2 separate regions of the Homo sapiens genome follow, and region 1 is linked to region 2. Evidence: promoter capture Hi-C in 16 types of primary human blood cells and fetal thymus (Javierre and others, 2016). All regions are on one chromosome and are shown on one strand. The core of a region is centred on a gene start or on the middle of the fragment in contact, and the rest is flanking DNA. Distances in the headings are between cores, read along the strand shown. Region 1 holds the start of EPN3 (epsin 3). Region 2 overlaps ANKRD40 (ankyrin repeat domain 40).

Evidence for each region. The method cuts DNA at HindIII sites, captures the fragments that hold promoters and counts their contacts. A CHiCAGO score of 5 or more calls a contact.
Region 1: the fragment with the promoter of EPN3 here is called in contact with a fragment that was not itself captured in region 2 in 7 of 17 cell types (endothelial precursors, M1 macrophages, megakaryocytes and 4 more); the score reaches 14.7 in endothelial precursors.

What each region holds. Positions count from the first base shown.
Region 1 is chr17:50,531,208-50,534,322 of GRCh38, reverse strand. It overlaps EPN3 (epsin 3), which reads right to left and starts at 1,588. Exons shown (of 10, transcript NM_017957.3): 1 at 1,338-1,588. It overlaps MYCBPAP (MYCBP associated protein), which reads right to left. Exons shown (of 19, transcript NM_032133.6): 19 at 2,822-2,996. The coding sequence ends at 2,895. RefSeq lists enhancers at 1-45, 46-722. The HindIII fragment of the contact is 5,271 bases long and covers 1,335-3,115 here.
Region 2 is chr17:50,702,002-50,705,373 of GRCh38, reverse strand. The region is part of intron 1 of ANKRD40 (ankyrin repeat domain 40); the gene reads left to right. Among named protein-coding and RNA genes, the nearest start is that of ANKRD40, 4.2 kb to the left of the region's middle. The HindIII fragment of the contact is 889 bases long and covers 1,497-2,385 here.

The DNA of each region.
Region 1 (3,115 bases), core at 339-2,838, 170 kb after region 2:
GGGCCCAGCGGCCCTGCCTGGACCTTTCTCACAGAAGGTGGGCATTCTCTGCACACCCCTGCAGGGGCTGGGGGGAAGGGCGGGGCCAGAAACATGGGGAGGCACCTTGATTTTCCTTCTCTGGAGTTTGAGGGGACAAGGTGAGGCTGCCCAAGCACAGAGAAGGGAGGAGGAAAGGAAGAAGCCTGCCCAAGCGCAGAGAAGGGAGGAGGAAAGGAAGAAGCCTGCCCAAGCGCAGAGAAGGGAGGAGGAAAGGAAGGAACGCGGGAACGCGGGAGGGAGCAGCTGGGAGCGCTGCCAGCAGTGTTACAAGCAAAGGGTTTTATCGAACACGATATGCCCAGAAATAAAAGGGAGTGTAACAGAAACCCAGCGGCCGATAAGGCGGTGGCGGTAGCAGCAGCAGCCCTGGGCAGCTGGGTATGGAATTACTGCAGTGACCTTGAGCCAGACCCTGTCAGGTGGAGGGAAGGGCACAGAGAGGGCAGGGCCTGAGAATTCAGAGATGACGAGAGGGCAGAGGAGGGAGGAAGCTGAGGGGATGGGAGCAGGGCCAGCAGGCGGTGGGATGGGCCACGGGGCACGGAGTATCAGCTCTCTCCTGCATACAGGGTCCCAAGGAGAACTGCGCAGTAGGGAGGGGCTGCTCTTCTCAGGGCCTGCAGGATGGGGGGATCTGGAGAGTTTCCCAAAAGTCAGGACCGAAAAATGCAGATCGCTCATCCCCAGCAAGGGTTTCGGAGAGATGGAGAGAACCCAGATCTGTCCAGTCACACGTGCATGAGTTTGCGTAAAGTCTGTGCACCCACCAGCCCAGCCCACACCCTCTTCCCGTCCTCTGCTAAGGTGGGCTCCAGCCCCTGCCTCCAAGTCAGATCCAGCCTGAGCAGTGGGGAATGACAGTGCCCTTCTTGATGCTGTAAGGGACAGGGGGTGAGCTTGAACTCTAAGCTTCTGGCCACTGTAATAGCTGCATCCCGGGAGCACAGAAGATGGGGGAGGGGGGACTGCCCTGAGGCTAGAGGTGTGCATGAGGGGCTGAAGAAGAGGAAACAGCAGAGATGTGCAGAAGGAGTCTGTGGGGAATGCCACCAAAGATGCTAAGATGCCACCAAAGATGCTAAGTCCCAGGATGGTTGGGGAGGGGGCCCTGAGTCCCTTTTTGGGGGCGGCAGGGAGGGAGGGGTGGCAGGAAAGAAGCCTTTAGGTCCTCTACAGCTCAGCCTTCTCCCTCGCACCTGGAAAAGAGACTAAGCCCCAGAACCACTGTTTGCTCCCCACCAACCCCCGCCTTCCATGCCGCCACTGCCAGGGAGGGGGCCAGGGAGGAAGCTTACCTCCAGTGCGGGCTCCCTCGGCCCCAGCCCCAGCCCGAGTAGCCTCTGCGGTGACCCTCCGACCTGTGCAGCAGCGGGACGGCACAGCCTCGGGAGCGTCTCCAGAGCCATCCACCATGGACCCTCGTCCCAGAGACCCACCTGCTCCCAGGAGGTGCAGACCCCTCAGAGGGGCAGCGGCAGGGTCCCTGGAATGGGTAGCAGCTCTTCCCGCGTGCGTTTGCCTCCTAGCCAGCGCCAGGCAGCACTCCGAGGAAAGTTGCTCAGCTGGCCCGGCAGGTCTGCCTCAGCAGTAACAGGACACAGGAGGAAGTGCAGGGCAGGTTAACCCCTTCCTGCTGGCCAGGCAAGTGGTGCATTGAGAGGTGGGGGGCCTGCCTGTTGGCCGCCCCCAGGAAGTGCACATCTGGAGCCAGTGCTGGCGACCTGATCCCCTCTGCTTTGAGTTAACCCTTCCCCTGCCTCTTCAACAGGAAAGGAGGGGGGCTCCAACACCCCCACCACACCCCTCCCCTTCCTCCTCTGGGCCGGGAGGACATTAAAGGAGAGGGCAGGGACATTCCCTGGGGCTGGCTCTTTGGTGGAGCCCCCGTCTTCTCGTCTTCTTGGGGAGGAGAGCATCAGGACTCCAGCACAGCCCCCTCCCTGCCTTTCCCACACGGAGTCAGATCCTTCTGTCCATCCTCCCCCTCCTGCATCTCAGCTGGAGGATGCCTGAGGCCCACTTAAGGATGCCCACCCACCCAAAAACCAAAGTTGTTCTTCAAACTCTGGGAGCCTGGAGTGCTCTTCACACAGGGAGCCCAGCCCCAAATGGTTATGACTGACAGAAGACAATGAGGGGCCTGAGTTTGAGCTGACAATACCTTTTTTTCTGAGAGCCATTTCTAGCCTGTTTCATGTTCCCCTGAGCAAGGGAGGTAGCATGAAGATCAGCAGCTGTTTTTAAGGCAGAAAGATGGCTCAAGGCCAGATAGTTTGAGATGAGGAGGGGGATAAGGCAGACTAGACCCCGAAATAACAAGGTGATGTGGCCTCTAGAGCTGAAGAGGTGTGGTGAGCATGATCTTCAGGGACTGAATTGGGGCCCTGGGACCCAGCTGAAGAGGGGAGATGGCAGGGAGCCAGGTCCCATGGGTCTAGTTCTACTCCTCATCTCACACTTTGTCATACTTGGTGATGACACTTCGGGAAGACCTGGCTCCAGGAAGCACGACCCTGAAAGTGTGGGCCAAGGAAGCCAGAGGCAGGGACTACCAGAGGTGACACACTGTCCTGTCACCTGACTCCTTGTCTTGCTACCAATCTGCTCCTCTGCTTGGCATCCCACACATCACTTCCCCAGCTATGTCTGTCTGTCCTCCTGCAGGAGGGCTCTGGCAGCTGGCAGGAGGGGATCTGAGGGCAGGTGGAACATGGGAGGACCTGGATCAGGAGCTGACCTAGCCAAGATCCATCATGCAAGACACAGAGGCACACGGAAGTAGTAGAAACTTGAAGGTTCTTTATTGATTTATTTATTAACCCGTTTTCCAGAAGGTTGCTTGGGCCCGAGAGTCACCTGCAGAGGCGCAAAGCCTCCTCGACATTCTTTATGGGGCTGAGCTCATCAGCCAGGACCATCAGGTCAGTCACCAGGGTGTCCAGCAGCCCACGGACCTGGAAGAACGGGACAACATCACAGGCAGAGTTTACTCTGTGGGAAGCACCTATATATGAACTATGCTGTGAGAGAATAGCTGGAGAGGGGAAAGAAACCAGTTGTTTGTGAAAGAATT
Region 2 (3,372 bases), core at 692-3,191:
TTCCTCTGGTTCAAAGCTGTGAATTACCATTTTGGCACTGGGAGGCGGTGTTGTGTAGAAGGAGCCTGGTCTTTCCTGCAGGTTCTCCTCCATTCCTGCCTAGCTATGGGACTTTGCCTGAGATGCTTCATTTTCTACTTGTTCCAGAAGAGTATTGTGAGCCCTTAATGAGATGAAGCATAAATAGCTAACATTTATTGAACTTGCTTTGCAGCACAGATAGGATAGGGTTCTTTTTTTTTTTTTTTTTTTTGAGACAGAGTCTCGCACTCTCGCCCAGGCTGGAGTGCAGTGGTGCCAGGTGCCATCTTGGCTCACTTCAAGCTCTGCCTCCTGGGTTCACGCCATTCTCCTGCCTCAGCCTCCCGAGTAGCTGGGACTACAGGTGCCCGCCACCACGCCCGGCTAATTTTTTGTATTTTTAGTAGAGATGGGGTTTCACCGTGTTAGCCAGGATGGTCTCGATCTCCTGACCTTGTGATCCGCCTGACTCTGCCTCCCAAAGTTCTGGGATTACAGGCGTGAGCCACCGTGCCCGGCCAGCTCAGATAGGGTTCTAAGTGTTTTACATGTGTTAGCTTGTTCACAACTACCTGGGGACATAGTTACTGTTCTCTCCATTTACAGATGAAGAAACTGAGGCCCAGAAACCGTAAGTTGTTTCCTCACTTTTCACAGTGCCCCTTCCCAAGGTCATAGGATTGACAGTAACTAGTGGAGCCAGAAAACAAACCTGGTATCTGATGCCAGACCTACCCTCCTAAACACAATGTCTGCCCCATAGGAGGTGTTTAGTGAAGTGATTCTGAGGTAGCCTGAAGAGGCTTCTTATAGGTTTTTTTTTTTTTTTTTTTTTTTGAGATGGAGTTTCACTCTTGTCACCCAGGCTGGAGTGCAATGCGTGATCTCAGCTCACTGCATCCTCCACCTCCTGGGTTCAAGCGATTCTCCTGCCTCATCCTCCCAAGTAACTAGGATTACAGGTGTGTGCCACCACGCCTGGCTAGTTTTTTGTATTTTTAGTAGAAATGGGGTTTCACCATGTTAGCCAAGCTGGTCTCGAACTCCTGACCTCAGGTGATCTGCCCGCCTCGGCCTCCCAAAGTGCTGGGATTATAGGCGTGAGCCACCGCGCCCGGCCTCTTGTAGATTTAATTGGAGGAACTGTCTAATAGGCCCCTCAAACTCAACATGTCCAAGATTGAATTCCAAGTCTCCCCTCATCCCTCTACCACCTCAAGCCTGCTCCTCTGAGTCCTCAGCCTCTCAGGAGTGCTCAGGCCAGAACCCTTGGCACCCTGCTTGCCTCCTGCTTGCCTCCTGTCTTTCATAGCCGACATCCAGTCAGCCAATTCTATGAGCTCCACCTTCAGATACAGTCAGAATCTGACTACTTCTCACTAACCCTACCACTACACCTCTGATACAAAGCCACCATTGTTTCTCTTGCTTGGATTATTACAATAGCCTCCTACTAGTGTCCTTGCTCCTAAGCTTATATCATACAGTCTTCTTAATTAACACAGTGGTCAGAGGGATCCTGACTTAAAACATAAGTCAGATCATTTCACTCTGCTCAAAAATGGCTCCTATCTCACTCAGTAAAAGCCTACAGGGTCCTACAATTTCTACTTCCTGTCCCCACATCTTCCCTCCTTACCTCTGTGCTAATCTCATGGGATTTGCCCTTCTGCTTACCTTTTTCCCCTGGCCTCCTTGCTTTCTCTGGAATACCAGACAGTCCTGATTCAAGATCTTTGCGTTTTGTCTTCCCACTCTCTTAAATGCTTTCCCTCCAGATATCACATGGTTTGCTTCCTCACCACCTTCAGATTTTAGTTTAGATGTCACCTTCTTGGCAAGGCTTTTCCTGGGCCCTCAATTTAAAGTTGCACAATGCCCCTTTCCAACCTCTGTCATTCCCTAATGCCTTTCCCTGCTTTACTATTGCTGTCATACTTCATCACCACCTAGCGTACTGCGTGCTTTGCTTATTTATTTGCTGATGTCTGTTTCCTCTTCTGTAAAATGGGGGGAATGTTGACAGTAGTATTACCTCATGGGTTTAGAGGATTAAATAAGTTAATACATGTAATGCCTTTAGAACAATGTCCAACACGTAAAGCATTATACCTGTATTAGCCATTGTTGTTGTTTTCTTATTATGAAGCAATATGCTAGATAATGGAATATAAGGTTACCCTCAAAAAAACGTACTCTCTTGCATTTGCAAAGCAGAATGGTGACTGCTTTCAAGTCTTAGTTGCTCAGTAATCACAATTTCAGCACCAATGAGTGATGCCCTGTTGATGAATGACACCCAGTGCCTCAGGTCTGAAATAGTTTCTGACACTAATAAGATATTTTGACTGCAAATGTAAAGCTTAAGGAGTTGAAGTTCAAAGATAGAGTAATCTATCAATTAGATTGATCACTAATCATTCCCCCACATCAGTTGTAATTCAAGTGTCATGCATAACCCTTGGTTCATGAAGAACTTGAAAATATTACCTGGCTGCAGGGGCTCTGAGTTATGGCTGCCCAGAGCCGCACAGCTCTGGACGGTAAATGATGATCACTAAGGCACAGGGCTGTGGGGGCCACGCTATGTTGACTTAACCCTGCTTTACATGGGTGGTAGTTTAGCAAGTTGGTTTGTCCCAGAGTCTCTCAGACCCACTGGTAGTAAATTACCTCCTTTACTCTCAAGCTTGCCACGAACAAGTGATCTACTACTAGCAAGTGAGCATTTTATTTCCAAAAGGGAGCATATTTTTCTCATCATGCTTCATTCATTTTTGAGGGCTCACTTATCATTATAATTGTTCACTTTTTAAGCCTGTGCCACAGACATCCACACACAAACACACTCAAGGTTCCAGTTTGCCCAGAATCAAGGGTAGATTGGATCCTTCTACTTCAAGCAAGGTCCACTTTATCCTTAGTTTACTCATTTGGTACTTTTTTTTTTTTTGAGATGGAGTCTTGCTGTGTTGCCCAGGCTGAAGTGCAGTGGCACAATCTTGGCTCGCTGCAACCTCCACCTCCTGGGTTCAAGCAATTCTCCTGCCTCAGCCTCCCCAGTAGCTGGGATTACAGACATGCACCATCACACTAATTTTTGTATTTTTAGTAGAGATGGGGTTTCACCCTATTGGGCAGGCTGGTCTCAAACTCCCGACCTAAAGTGATCCACCTGCCTTGGCCTCCCTAAGTGCTGGGATTACAGGTGTGAGCCACCGTGCCTGGCCCATTCAGTAAATATTAATTAATACATGCCAAGCAAACACTTCCTTGCCTTCAGGGAGCTTGATCAAGACTCTTCTCTCCCAAACTTAACGAGACTCTTATTTTTCCCAAATTAGCAATAAT